Linked DNA regions of Homo sapiens: region 2 is linked to region 1. The links are contacts of gene promoters, found by promoter capture Hi-C in human tissues and cell types (Jung and others, 2019). All regions are on one chromosome and are shown on one strand. The core of a region is centred on a gene start or on the middle of the fragment in contact, and the rest is flanking DNA. Distances in the headings are between cores, read along the strand shown.

Evidence for each region. Contacts are between HindIII fragments. The study calls those that stand out against the background at their distance.
Region 2: a contact is called between a fragment that was not itself captured here and the fragment with the promoter of RMND5B in region 1, in 1 of the 25 tissues and cell types used here (dorsolateral prefrontal cortex).

The regions. Positions count from the first base shown.
Region 1 is chr5:178,129,441-178,134,983 of GRCh38, reverse strand. RMND5B (required for meiotic nuclear division 5 homolog B) reads right to left here and starts at 3,970. Exons shown (of 11, transcript NM_022762.5): 1 at 3,930-3,970; 2 at 3,608-3,747. RefSeq lists enhancers at 2,337-2,866, 4,145-4,796, 4,797-5,448 and a silencer at 3,824-4,413. The HindIII fragment of the contact is 16,880 bases long and covers 1-5,543 here.
Region 2 is chr5:177,977,058-177,983,053 of GRCh38, reverse strand. No RefSeq gene overlaps it. Among named protein-coding and RNA genes, the nearest start is that of PROP1, 16 kb to the left of the region's middle. RefSeq lists enhancers at 234-798, 2,245-2,989 and a silencer at 689-857. The HindIII fragment of the contact is 5,363 bases long and covers 1,917-5,996 here.

The DNA of each region.
Region 1 (5,543 bases), core at 2,721-5,220:
TTTTTTTGTAGACGGTCTCGCTCTGTTGCCCAGGCTGGAATACAGTGGTGCTATCTTGGCTCACTGGCAACCTCCACCTCCCGGGTCCAAGCAATTCTTATGCCTTGGTCTCCCAAGTAGCTGGGATTACAGGTGCACCACCACACCTGGCTTTTTTTTTTTTTCATTTTTGTATTTTTAGTAAAGACGGGGTTTCGCCATTTTGGCCAGGCTGGTCTCGAACTCCTAGCCTCAAGTGATCCACCTGCCTTGGCCTCCCAAAGCACTGGGATTACAGGTGTGAGCCAAATCACCTGGCCAAATTTTTAAAAGTAAAATAAATGAACTGAGAAAACAGAACTGTTCGTGGGTATTCTATCCAAAAAATGCAGGAGGTTAATTCAGTCTGTCTAGAGCAAGCCACTCTGCCTGAATCAGTCAGTCATCTTCACCAGGCGCAAGGAATTGTGTTTGTCTTTGACAAACTTCATGATTAATAGATTGAAATTTCATGTCCACTGGTCCTAAGCCTTCCTCCCCAAGGTCTCACATATACAGAAATTATCCACCAGGATGACCCTCCGAAACACATAGCAGATCCTGTTACCTTTTGCCCAACACTACCATGGTTGACATATAAACCCTTTGCAATAATGTATTTGCTTCCTTTGCACAAGTTGTTCCCATTTTTAGAGTGCCCTCTGCACTTCTTTGTATAGAGTACGTAAGCTGTAGTTAAATTATCACCTCCCCTTGAGCCCTCAGTGAAATCTCCCTGCCTCCTTTTCTGCTTCATAACCTGGCAAGAGTGGCCACACCACACCCATCGAGTCCTCAGCTACTGCAGCACAGTAACAGCCTGTCCACGTCAGCCTCCTCCATTGGTCTGTGAGCTGCTCGATGGCTGGAATGTAGTCTTGTCCTTTCTCCCCCTCAGTGCCCAGACTAGGGCCTGGTCCATGGTAGATGCTCAGTAAACATTTGTTGATTGGGGCAGGGCGCGGTGGCTCACGCCTGTAATCCCAACACTTTGGGAGGCCGAGGCGAGTGGATCATGAGGTCAGGAGATCAAGACCATCCTGGCTAACACGGTGAAACCCCATCTCTACTAAAAAAATACAAAAAATTAGCCGGGTGTGGTGGCGGGCACCCGTAGTCCCAGCTACTCGGGAGGCTGGGGCAGGAGAATGGTGTGAACCCGGGAGGTGGAGCTTGCAGTGAGCCAAGATTGTGCCACTGCACTCCAGCCTGGGAGACAGCGTGAGACTCCGTCTCCAAAAAAAAAAAAAATTGTTGATTGGCCGGCGCAGTGGCTCACACCTGTAATCCCAGCACTTTGGGAGGCTGAGGTGGGTGGCTCACCTGAGGTCAAGAGTTTGAGACCCGCCTGACCAACATGGTGAAACTTCGTCTCTACTAAAAATACAAAAATTACCGAGGCGTGGTGGCGGGCACCTGTAATCCCAGCTACTCAGGAGGCTGAGGCAGGACAATCGCTTGAACCTAGGAGGTGGAGGTTGCAGTGAGCCAAGACCACGCCATTGCACTCCATCCTGGGCAACAAGAGCAAAAACTCCGTCTCAAATTTAAAAAAACACACACACACATTTGCTGATTAAATGACACATCCATTTCCTAACTGCGCTGGAGAACCTGAGCTCAAATGTGTAGGAGTGGGTAGAAAAGAGACATGAGTGAAATATTAAAATCTCCACAAAGGCATGTATGGAGGTTTATCCTGGAGTATTTAGCATCCTGAAACAAGGGGCTCCTGTGTAAGGAGAAAGGAAGTTTGAGCAAATCATAAAGGTCCCTTTTGCCTGACAAAGATTAGACAACATCGGCTGGGCGTGGTGGCTCATGCCTGTAATCCCAGCACTTTGGGAGGCCGAGGCAGGCGGATCACAAGGTCAGGAGTTTGAGACCAGCCTGACCAACATGGCGAAACCCTGTCTCTACTAAAAATACAAAAATTAGCTGGGCGTGGTGGTGCGTGCCTGTAATCCCAGCTACTCGGGAGGCTGAGGCAGGAGAATTGCTTGAACCCAGGAGGCAGAGGTTGCAGTGAGCTGAGATGGCGCCACTGCACTCCAGCCTGGGCGACAGAGTGAGACTGTCTCAAAAAAACAAACAAACAAACAAAAACAAAAAAAAAAGATTAGACAACCTCCATTGACCCAATTCTTAACGCTTTTTTTTTTTTTTTTTTTTTTTTGTGAGGCAGGGTCTCTTCAGTTAATAGGGTTGCTTAAAAAAAAAAAAAAAAAGAGAGAGACAGGGTCTCAATCTGTTTCCCAGGCCAGAGTGCTGTGGTACAATCAGGGCTCACTGCAGCCTCGACCTCCTGGGCTCAAGTGATCCTCCCACCTCAGCCCCCCACCCCAAGAAGCTGGGACTACAGGTGCACCATGTAGTCCCACCATGAACACTCCTGAGTTCATGACACATGTAAGTGGTCCATGCAGGGCCTTTTCTCCTTTGTGTTTATTTATGTATTCCCTTTTGTCCCTATTCTTCCCCTCTCTCCCCACCACACCTGGCTAATTTTTTTGTTGTTTGTTTTTGAGACAGAGTCTTACTCTGTCGCCCAGGCTGGAGTACAGTGGCACGATCTTGGCTCATTGCAACCTTTGCTTCCCAGTTTCAAGCGATTCTCCTGCCTCAGCCTCCCAAGTAGCTGGAATTACAGACACCTGCCACCACACCCGGCTAAATTTTGTATTTTTAGTAGAGACGGGGTTTCACCATGTTGGCCAGGCTGGTCTTGAACTCCTGGCCTCAAGTGATCCTCCCGCCTTGGCCTCCCAAAGTGCTGGGGTTACAAGCGTGAGCCACTGCGCCCAGCCTAATTTTTTGGAGCGACAGGGTTTCACCATGTTGGCCAGGTTGGTCTTGAAGTGCTGAGCTCAAGCCGTCTGCCAGTCTCAGCCTCCCAAAGTGCTGGAATTACGGGCGTGAACCACCGTGCCCAGCCAATTCTTATGCTTTTGCAGCCGCGACCTCCATCCACTCTCTACCCTACATGTCACTCCTCTGCTTAAAACCAAAAGATTTCCACTGTACTTAGAAAAAACTCCACATTCCTCTCTCTGACCTACAGACTCTATGTGACCAAACCCCAATTATCCGACCTCATCTCCTACCACTCTTTCCCTTTCTTACCATACTTTAGCCACACTAGCTTGCTTTCTGTTCCTTGACTATACTCTCAGTTGATTTCTGCCCTAGGGCCTTCACACTGGCTGTTCCCGCTGCCTGGACCACTCTCTTCCCGTATCTTCCTAAGCCTGCCTCCTAATTTGGGTCTCAACGCAAATGTCCCGTCCTCAGAGATGCTCTGCTAGACCACAGTATCTAATACTGACCCCTCCGCCCCACCCTCACACCAGTTACCGTGTCATATCGCCCTCCTCCATTTTTTTTTTTTTTTTACTATACAGTCCTACTTGAAGTTTCTAATCTTTCTTTTCTCATTAACCAAAACTGGAGGGAGGAAAAAGCCCATCATTTTCCCTGGACAGCAGCGCCTACTGGGAGTTTCACCCGCATTAACATGCAAACGACAGGCAAACTCCTAGTCATCCTTCCAAAGACCCTGCTCCATAGCCCTGCCGAGCCCGGTGCGCACCTGCTCACTTCCGACCCAGCGCGGTCGCACGAGGACTGGACGTTTGAGTCCGAGCAACTCCCCCCGGCTGAGGCGGCTCTTCGGGGGCTGGGCCGGGACCTATGAGTCTGGGACTCCAGCTCCCGGCCCAGGGCCGACAACTGCGAAGAGAACAAGCCCAAGGGCAGATTGTTCGGGGCTTAGTCGTGGGTAGCAGGGGTTCTGGAGAAGGCTGGGGCCCGGGAGGCCGGCCGAGCTTTCCCCGCCGCGCGCCTCAGCTCCGCCGGCCGCTGTGCCCGCCCTCGGCCCGCACCTGCCGGCTCCCAAGCCCGCCCGCTCTCACCTCGCCCCGCAGCCCCGGCCCCGGCTTCCGGCGCCACTGTCATCGGAACCGGAAGCCGCGGCGGGCGATCGGCGGCCCGGGCCCGCCCATTGGCGGTTTTGCGGAGGGGTGGCCGTCCCACGAGCCCGCGGCTTTGCGCCTCACCGCCGAGGCTCCCCGCCGCGCATGCCGAGTGGAGTCGCCCGCGGGAACCGGGCGGCGGCCAGAAAAGCCGCGCCTGTAGTCCTCTGGGGGTCGCGCCTGGTCGTTTCCAGGTTCCGAGTCCCTCCGGCCCGGCCCCGGGCCTCCCAGTCGGCGGAAGCCCCTGGCCGCGACCGCTCCTCGCCGGCGGGCGGGTTCCCCACCCGGCAGAGGCGTCGGCCTCGCACTCAACCCAGCACCCGACTCCCGGGTCAGAAGCCCCAAGCCCCAAGTGGTTACGCTTACAGCGCTGCCCGCCCTGCTCAGTGAGGGCGGCGCGGGGGCCGTGAGGGGCAGTGGCTGGGCTAGGTGCGCACCGGCCTCGGCAGGGCTGTGGAGCAGGGTCTTTGGAAGGATGACTAGGAGTTTGCCTGTCGTTTGCATGTTAATGCGGGTGAAACTCCCAGTAGGCGCTGCTGTCCAGGGAAAATGATGGGCTTTTTCCTCTCTCCAGTTTTGGTTAATGAGAAAAGAAAGATTAGAAACTTCAAGTAGGACTGTGAACAGGCTTAGGGATCCTGGACAGAGCCTAGAAATCTCAGGAGAACTGAGAGCTCTTGAAATATGAAGTGATGCTTAAAAAAAAAAAGAAAACTCCAGGCCGGGCGCGGCGGCTCACGCCTGTAATCCCAGCACTTTGGGAGGCCGAGGCGGGCGGATCAGGAGGTCAGGAGATCGAGACCATCCTGGCTAACACGGTGAAACCCCGTCTCTACTAAAAATACAAAAAATTGGCCGGGCGAGGTGGGGGGCGCCTGTAGTCCCAGCCACTCGGGAGGCTGAGGCAGGAGAATGTCGTGAACCCGGGAGGCGGAGCTCGGAGTGAGCCGAGACGGCGCCACTGCACTCCAGCCTGGGCGACAGAGCGAGACTCCGTCTCAAAAAAAAAGAATAGAAAACTCCGGGCCGGGCGGCTCACGCCTGTAATCCCAGCACTTTGGGAGGCTGAGGCGGGCGGAACATAAGGTCAGGAGTTCGAGACCAGCCTGTCCAATATGGTGAAACCCCGTCTGTACTAAAAATACAAAAATTAGCCGGGAATGGTGGCAGGCGCCTGTAGTCCCATGATCCTAGCTACTCGGGAGACTGAGGCAGGAGAATCGTTTGAACCCGAGAGGCGGAGGTTGCAGTGAGCCGAGATCGCGCCATTGCACTCCAGCCTAGGCGACAGAGCGAGACTCCGTCTCAAAAAAAAAAAAAAGAAAAGAAAAGAAAACTCCTTTCCTGTCCCAGCCTTTCTGGTCCCCTTAGCCCGAACTTAATCTGCCCACTGGGTATTCAACAGAATTCAGTTCTGCGGAGGAGGGGGTCCAGCCCTACCCTGCCGCCCTGTGTTGGTCGCTGTCCTGGGGAACGGGGGAAGGGGAGAAGATGGGAGCTGCCCATCTGCCCTAAGGAGGAAGGGTGAGGGTTAGGAAGGAGGAGGGAACAGGC
Region 2 (5,996 bases), core at 3,349-5,848, 150 kb after region 1:
GGCCTATCTCCAGAAGACAAAACTGACCCTGGGTGAAACCACCTACCTGAGCAGCAGTGGACGAACTGTTCAGACCCCAAGACCACCTTCCCTCCACTGGTATAACCTCTTCTGCTTTTCTGTCGGACTCCTCAGATAGCACAACTGGAATTCTGATTCTTACAGAATCCTGCAAATATTTATCAGGCACCTACCGAGTGCCCAGCAGGGAGCCAGAAGCTGGAGATTTGTCTTGGACCCAAGAAGTTCCTGCTGGACACTGGGACATACCAGGACAGGATCATGTGAGCCCAGGCCAGGTTTCTAGAGGGGATCCTCTCCCTCTCTCCCATGTCGGAGACTTACCTCCACTCTGCGGAGTTCCTCTTCTGAGCACACCTGCAGGCGCTGCGTTTTGTACACTGGAGGGGGTTGGAGGGGAAAGGAATGGGAGGGTCAGAGCAGCCCTGGCCTGGGGCCCCTGCGGAAGCCTTTGGTCCTGAAAGCCGTGACTGGACACAGGACCTCCTTCTACACACTGATGGGCAGGGGACTTCCCTTGTGTGCTGACTTTCCACAGCCACCACTATGCAGATCCAACTGTTTCCTGCTTCCTGAGACATTGTCCCAGCTAAGCTAAGTGTCCCCAGCAGCCTTGCCGTCCCAGATCCGGGTGGTGGGCAGCAGCAGTGAACCCAAAGGGGAACCCTCTTGGCCGCAGCACCTCCGTGTCGCCAGGGCGGGGCCCTGGGTGCTGGCAGCTGTCCCGCCTCTGCAAAACCTCAGGTCTGTGGCGCCTCCTGGCTGCTGCTTCCTTGGAGGCCATGCAAAATGTCCCAGGCACTCCTTCCTGCCCTCTGGGGACCACGTTGGAGGTGAGGGGTCAGATCCCAGGGGAGGTCCCGTGCCCTGGGGGTGGGAGGGAGAGTGGTGTTGCAGGCAGGAGAGACGGTGTGGTGGGCAGAAGACTAGACTGCTGAGCCCTGGTGTGGCAGCAGCTGTGCGTCTCCCTGGATGCCTGAACCCCTTGCCCATTTGAGACGGGCTGTGAGGGTCGGGTGGTTCAGGGAGGGAAGGATGGCAGGGCCGCTGCTCCTACCCCCACCCCCCCAACCTCTCTGGGCTCTGAAGCAACGTATCAAACTTCCCATTCCCCCGTCAGAGCCATCTATCCACCATCCATCCATCCATTCATTCGGCCATCCATCCACCATCCATGTGTCCACCATCCATCCTTTTATCCGTCCATTCAGCAAATATCCATCGAGCCCCTGCCCTGTGCCAATGTTGTTCTAGGCACAAGGGATACTTCAGCAAGCCATTCATTCTATTTGGGGGATAAACAATAACGAAACAAATAAATAAGAAGATAACAGTAGTGCCGTGCTGCAGTGAATAATGGATCCACATTGCCCCAGGACAGCACTGCCCACACCGTGATGTACAAAAAGCGATGCACAAGAGGGCCAGAGCCTGGCCCCACCTAGCAAGGGGTCCACCGAGCCCCTCCCTCATTATCCGCGGCTGTCCCCATGACACCCCCGCTACCCGCTGCACAGGCCAAGACCCGGGAGTTCCTATACTCCATTCCTCCTCACACACCTGCCGTGACCTCAGCGAGTTGTGGGCAGGTGAGGTCACTTCACGCACCCGGTCTTCCCGCTTCTCTCCAGCCTTCCCACCATGCCCAGCCCATGCTGTCATCATGCCCACTCCCACCACAGCAAAGCCCACTAACATCCATCCGCTTCAACTTGTGCTTGCCACGGCAGCTGCCCATGTTTCTCAAGTGTGACCAGGTTGCACTGCTGTTGGGATTAAAACCTGCAGCCAAAAGAGAATCTGAAGTGGCCACCAGAGTCCATGAGGCCTGGTCCGACTGGGCGGCTAGCCACTCTGCCCCACTTCTCTCCACCCCTTGTTCTCCTCTCTAAGCCCCACCGCAGCCCTGCCTTTCACCCTCAGGGCTCTGCACTTGCATCCACCTGTGCTGTGAACACGCTCTGCCCAGTCCCGGCACGGCTGGCTCCCTACTCGTCAGAGACTCTGGCCTCCTCCTCTAAGACAGCCCGCCCCATCTCTCTCCCCCGCTCAGCCAGGAGAGCCACCCCCTTCCCAGTCTGGCTTCCACCAGCCTCTGAGTCTTGGCAAACCAGAAACTCCCCGCTGGCTGGGGAAACTGACTGTCTGATTGGCTGGGGGCGGACAGAGCCTGGCTAACCCTGACTAACAGTTGGAGGGCTACGTGAGAAAAAATGGCTCCAGTAAGTGCTTGGAAGCCTGTAGTTTGAGGCAGCAGCAAGCTGGGGACAGGCCAAGGCTGAGGGTGGGACAATGGGCATCAGGCCTCAAAGAACCTGGATCCTGTGCGATCTCGCTTTTCCTTGCTGCCATCTGGAGCCGGGGAGAAATGCGCTCCCACGTGCTCTGTGTGTCACACACACACACACACACACACACACAGGGAGAAATGGGCTCCCACGTGCTCTGTGTGTCACACACACACACACACACCCAGGGAGAAATGGGCTCCCACGTGCTCTGTGTGTGTCTCTCACACACACACACACACACACACACACACACCCAGGGAGAAATGCGCTCCCACGCGCTCTGTGTCACACACACACACACACACACACACACACCCAGGGAGAAATGCACTCCCACGTGCTCTGTGTCTCTGTCTTACACACACACACACACACCCAGGGAGAAATGCGCTCCCACGTGCTCTGTCTCTGTCTTACACACACACACACACACACACACACACACACCCAGGGAGAAATGAGCTCCCACGTGCTCTGTGTCTCTGTCTTACACACACACACACACCCAGGGAGAAATGAGCTCCCACGTGCTCTGTGTCTCTGTCTTTCACACACACACACACACACACACACACACCCAGGGAGAAATGAGCTCCCACGTGCTCTGTGTCTGTCTTTCACACACACACACACACACACACACACACCCAGGGAGAAATGAGCTCCCACATGCTCTGTGTCTCTCTCTCACACACACACACACACACACACCCAGGGAGAAATGAGCTCCCACGTGCTCTGTGTCTCTGTCTTACACACACACACACACACACACACACACACACCCCCAGGGAGAAATGAGCTCCCACGTGCTCTGTCTCTGTCTTTCACACACACACACCCAGGGAGAAATGAGCTCCCACGTGCTCTGTGTCTCTTTCACACACACACACACCCAGGGAGAAATGAGCTCCCACGTGCTCTGTCTTTCACACACACACACACACACACCCAGGGAGAAATGAGCTCCCACATGCTCTGTGTCTCTGTCTTTCACACACACACACACACACACACACACACACACACACACCCAGGGAGAAATGAGCTCCCACGTGCTCTGTGTCTGTCTTTCACACACACACACACACACACACACACACACACACACCCAGGGAGAAATGAGCTCCCACGTGCTCTGTGTCTCTGTCTTTCTCACACACACACACACACACACACACACACACCCAGGGAGAAATGAGCTCCCACGTGCTGTGTCTCTGTCTTTCACACACACACACACACACACACACACCCAGGGAGAAATGAGCTCCCACGTGCTCTGTGTCTCTGTCTTTCACACACACACACACACCCCCAGGGAGAAATGAGCTCCCACGTGCTCTGTCTCTGTCTTTCACACACACACACACACACCCAGGGAGAAATGAGCTCCCACGTGCTCTGTGTCTCTTTCACACACACACACACACACACACACACACACACACACCCAGGGAGAAATGAGCTCCCACGTGCTCTGTGTCTCTGTCTTTCACACACACACACACACACACACCCAGGGAGAAATGAGCTCCCACGTGCTCTGTGTCTCTGTCTTTCACACACACAAACACACACACCCAGGGAGAAATGAGCTCCCACGTGCTCTGTGTCTCTGTCTTTCACACACACACACACACACACACACCCAGGGAGAAATGAGCTCCCACGTGCTCTGTGTCTGTCTTTCACACACACACACACACACACCCAGGGAGAAATGAGCTCCCACGTGCTCTGTGTCTCTGTCTTTCACACACACACACACACCCAGGGAGAAATGAGCTCCCACGTGCTCTGTGTCTGTCTTTCACACACACACACACACACACACACACACCCAGGGAGAAATGAGCTCCCACGTGCTCTGTGTCTCTTTCACACACACACACACACACACACACACACACACACACACACACACACACACACACACGGCTGCAGGTGAGTTGTTTCTAGAACCAGAGCTTATATGAAGAGAAAAATAGAAGGGACAGAACAGTGTGTTCCCAGATCACACCTGCAGTTCCCACAGGCTGGGGTGGGGGTCTGGGGCCCGGCTCTGCTGGCTCAGTCACTTTGCTTCTCCTCAAGTTCCCTCTGTGGAACTGGGCGCTGTTTCCACCAAACCGTCTGCTCTCCAGTCCCACAGGGGCTGCTGTCAGTCACCCTACGGCCTCTCTGCCTAGGCTTTGAAACTGATTCATTGTTCTTTTGCTGTATTTTTCTTTGTAGGTTTCAGAATTCTCTGTTTATTTATGATAATTTGGGAAGGATCCTGGGAGAGTGAAAATAAATGAAGTGCGCAATCTGCCAAGTTTCACTGGAGGCTCCACTGATCCTTCCACCATGCTCAAATGCCTGCAGGAAATCTGGGGAATCATCTTTCCTACCCTAAGACCCTGGGACTTAGCACTGGCCCTGAGGCCCCTGACAGGCATAAACTAATCAGCAAATGTGCAGGAAAAATGCGGAGCTGCAAGATCAAAGTCAGATTCCCACTCTCCCTAAAGGCCTGGATTCCCCTGGAAACCCACATCCTCACTGCCTGGAAGGAGCGATGAGGACCCAGGGGAGTGGCTCTGGGCATCAACTGGTCCAGGCAGGAGGCGGTTCCCCATGTCCCATCTTTCCAGCACCGAAGGGAGCCTCTCAGGGGAGTCTCATCACCTCCCGCCCCACCATCACAGAGCAGCCTGCTCCTGGCCTGTATTCAAACACCCCTGGGGGCGGCCGCCCTGGGCGTGCTCCCCTTTCCCTGATGGCCGCTAGAACTCCGTGAGGAGAGGCTCGCCAGGGTCACCCAGACAGTCCCTGATCCCACATTGTCCCGACACATGAGGCTTCACCCCGGAGGAAATAGGAAAAGGGAGTGAATCCCATGGGCTCCCCTCACAAAAGGAAAGCCACGTGCTGTCACTTGGGTGCAAGATGGGCTATGAGGCTGGAGAAAGTCTCCCAGGGACGCCTCCTGGAGTCTTTTTTTTTCCTTTGCTACTGTGAATAGTGCTGCAATAAACATATCTGTGCCTGTGTCTTTATAACAACAATTTATTTTCCTTTGGGTATATACCCAGTAATGGGATTGCAGGGTGGAATGGTATTTCTGTATTTATATCTTTGAGAAATCACCACACTGTCTTCCACAATGGTTGAACTAATTTACACTCCTGCCAACGGTGTATAAGCATTCCTTTTTCTCCAAAACCTCGCCACCATCTGTTATTTTTTTATTTTTTAATAATAGCCATTCTGACTGATACGATATGGTATCTCATTGTGGTTTTGATTTGCATTTCTTTAATGATCAGTAATATCGAGCTTTTCTTTTCTTTTCTTTTTTAAAGACAGAGTCTCGCTCTGTTTCACCCAGGCTGGAGCGCAGTGGTGCCATCTTGGCTCACTGCAACCCCCGCCTCCCGGTTCAAGCAGTTCTCCTGCCTCACCCTCCCGAGTAGCTGGGATTACAGACATGCATCACCACACTTAGCTAATTTTTGTATTTTTAGTAGAGACGGGTTGGGGGGGCGGGTTTCACCATGTTCGCCAGGCTGGTCTTGAACTGCCGACCTCAGGTGATACACCTGCCTTGGCCTCCCAAAGTGCTGGGATTACAGGCGTGAGCCACCGCGCCTAGCCAAGCTTTTTTTAATATGCTGGTTGGCCTCAAGTTTGTCTTCT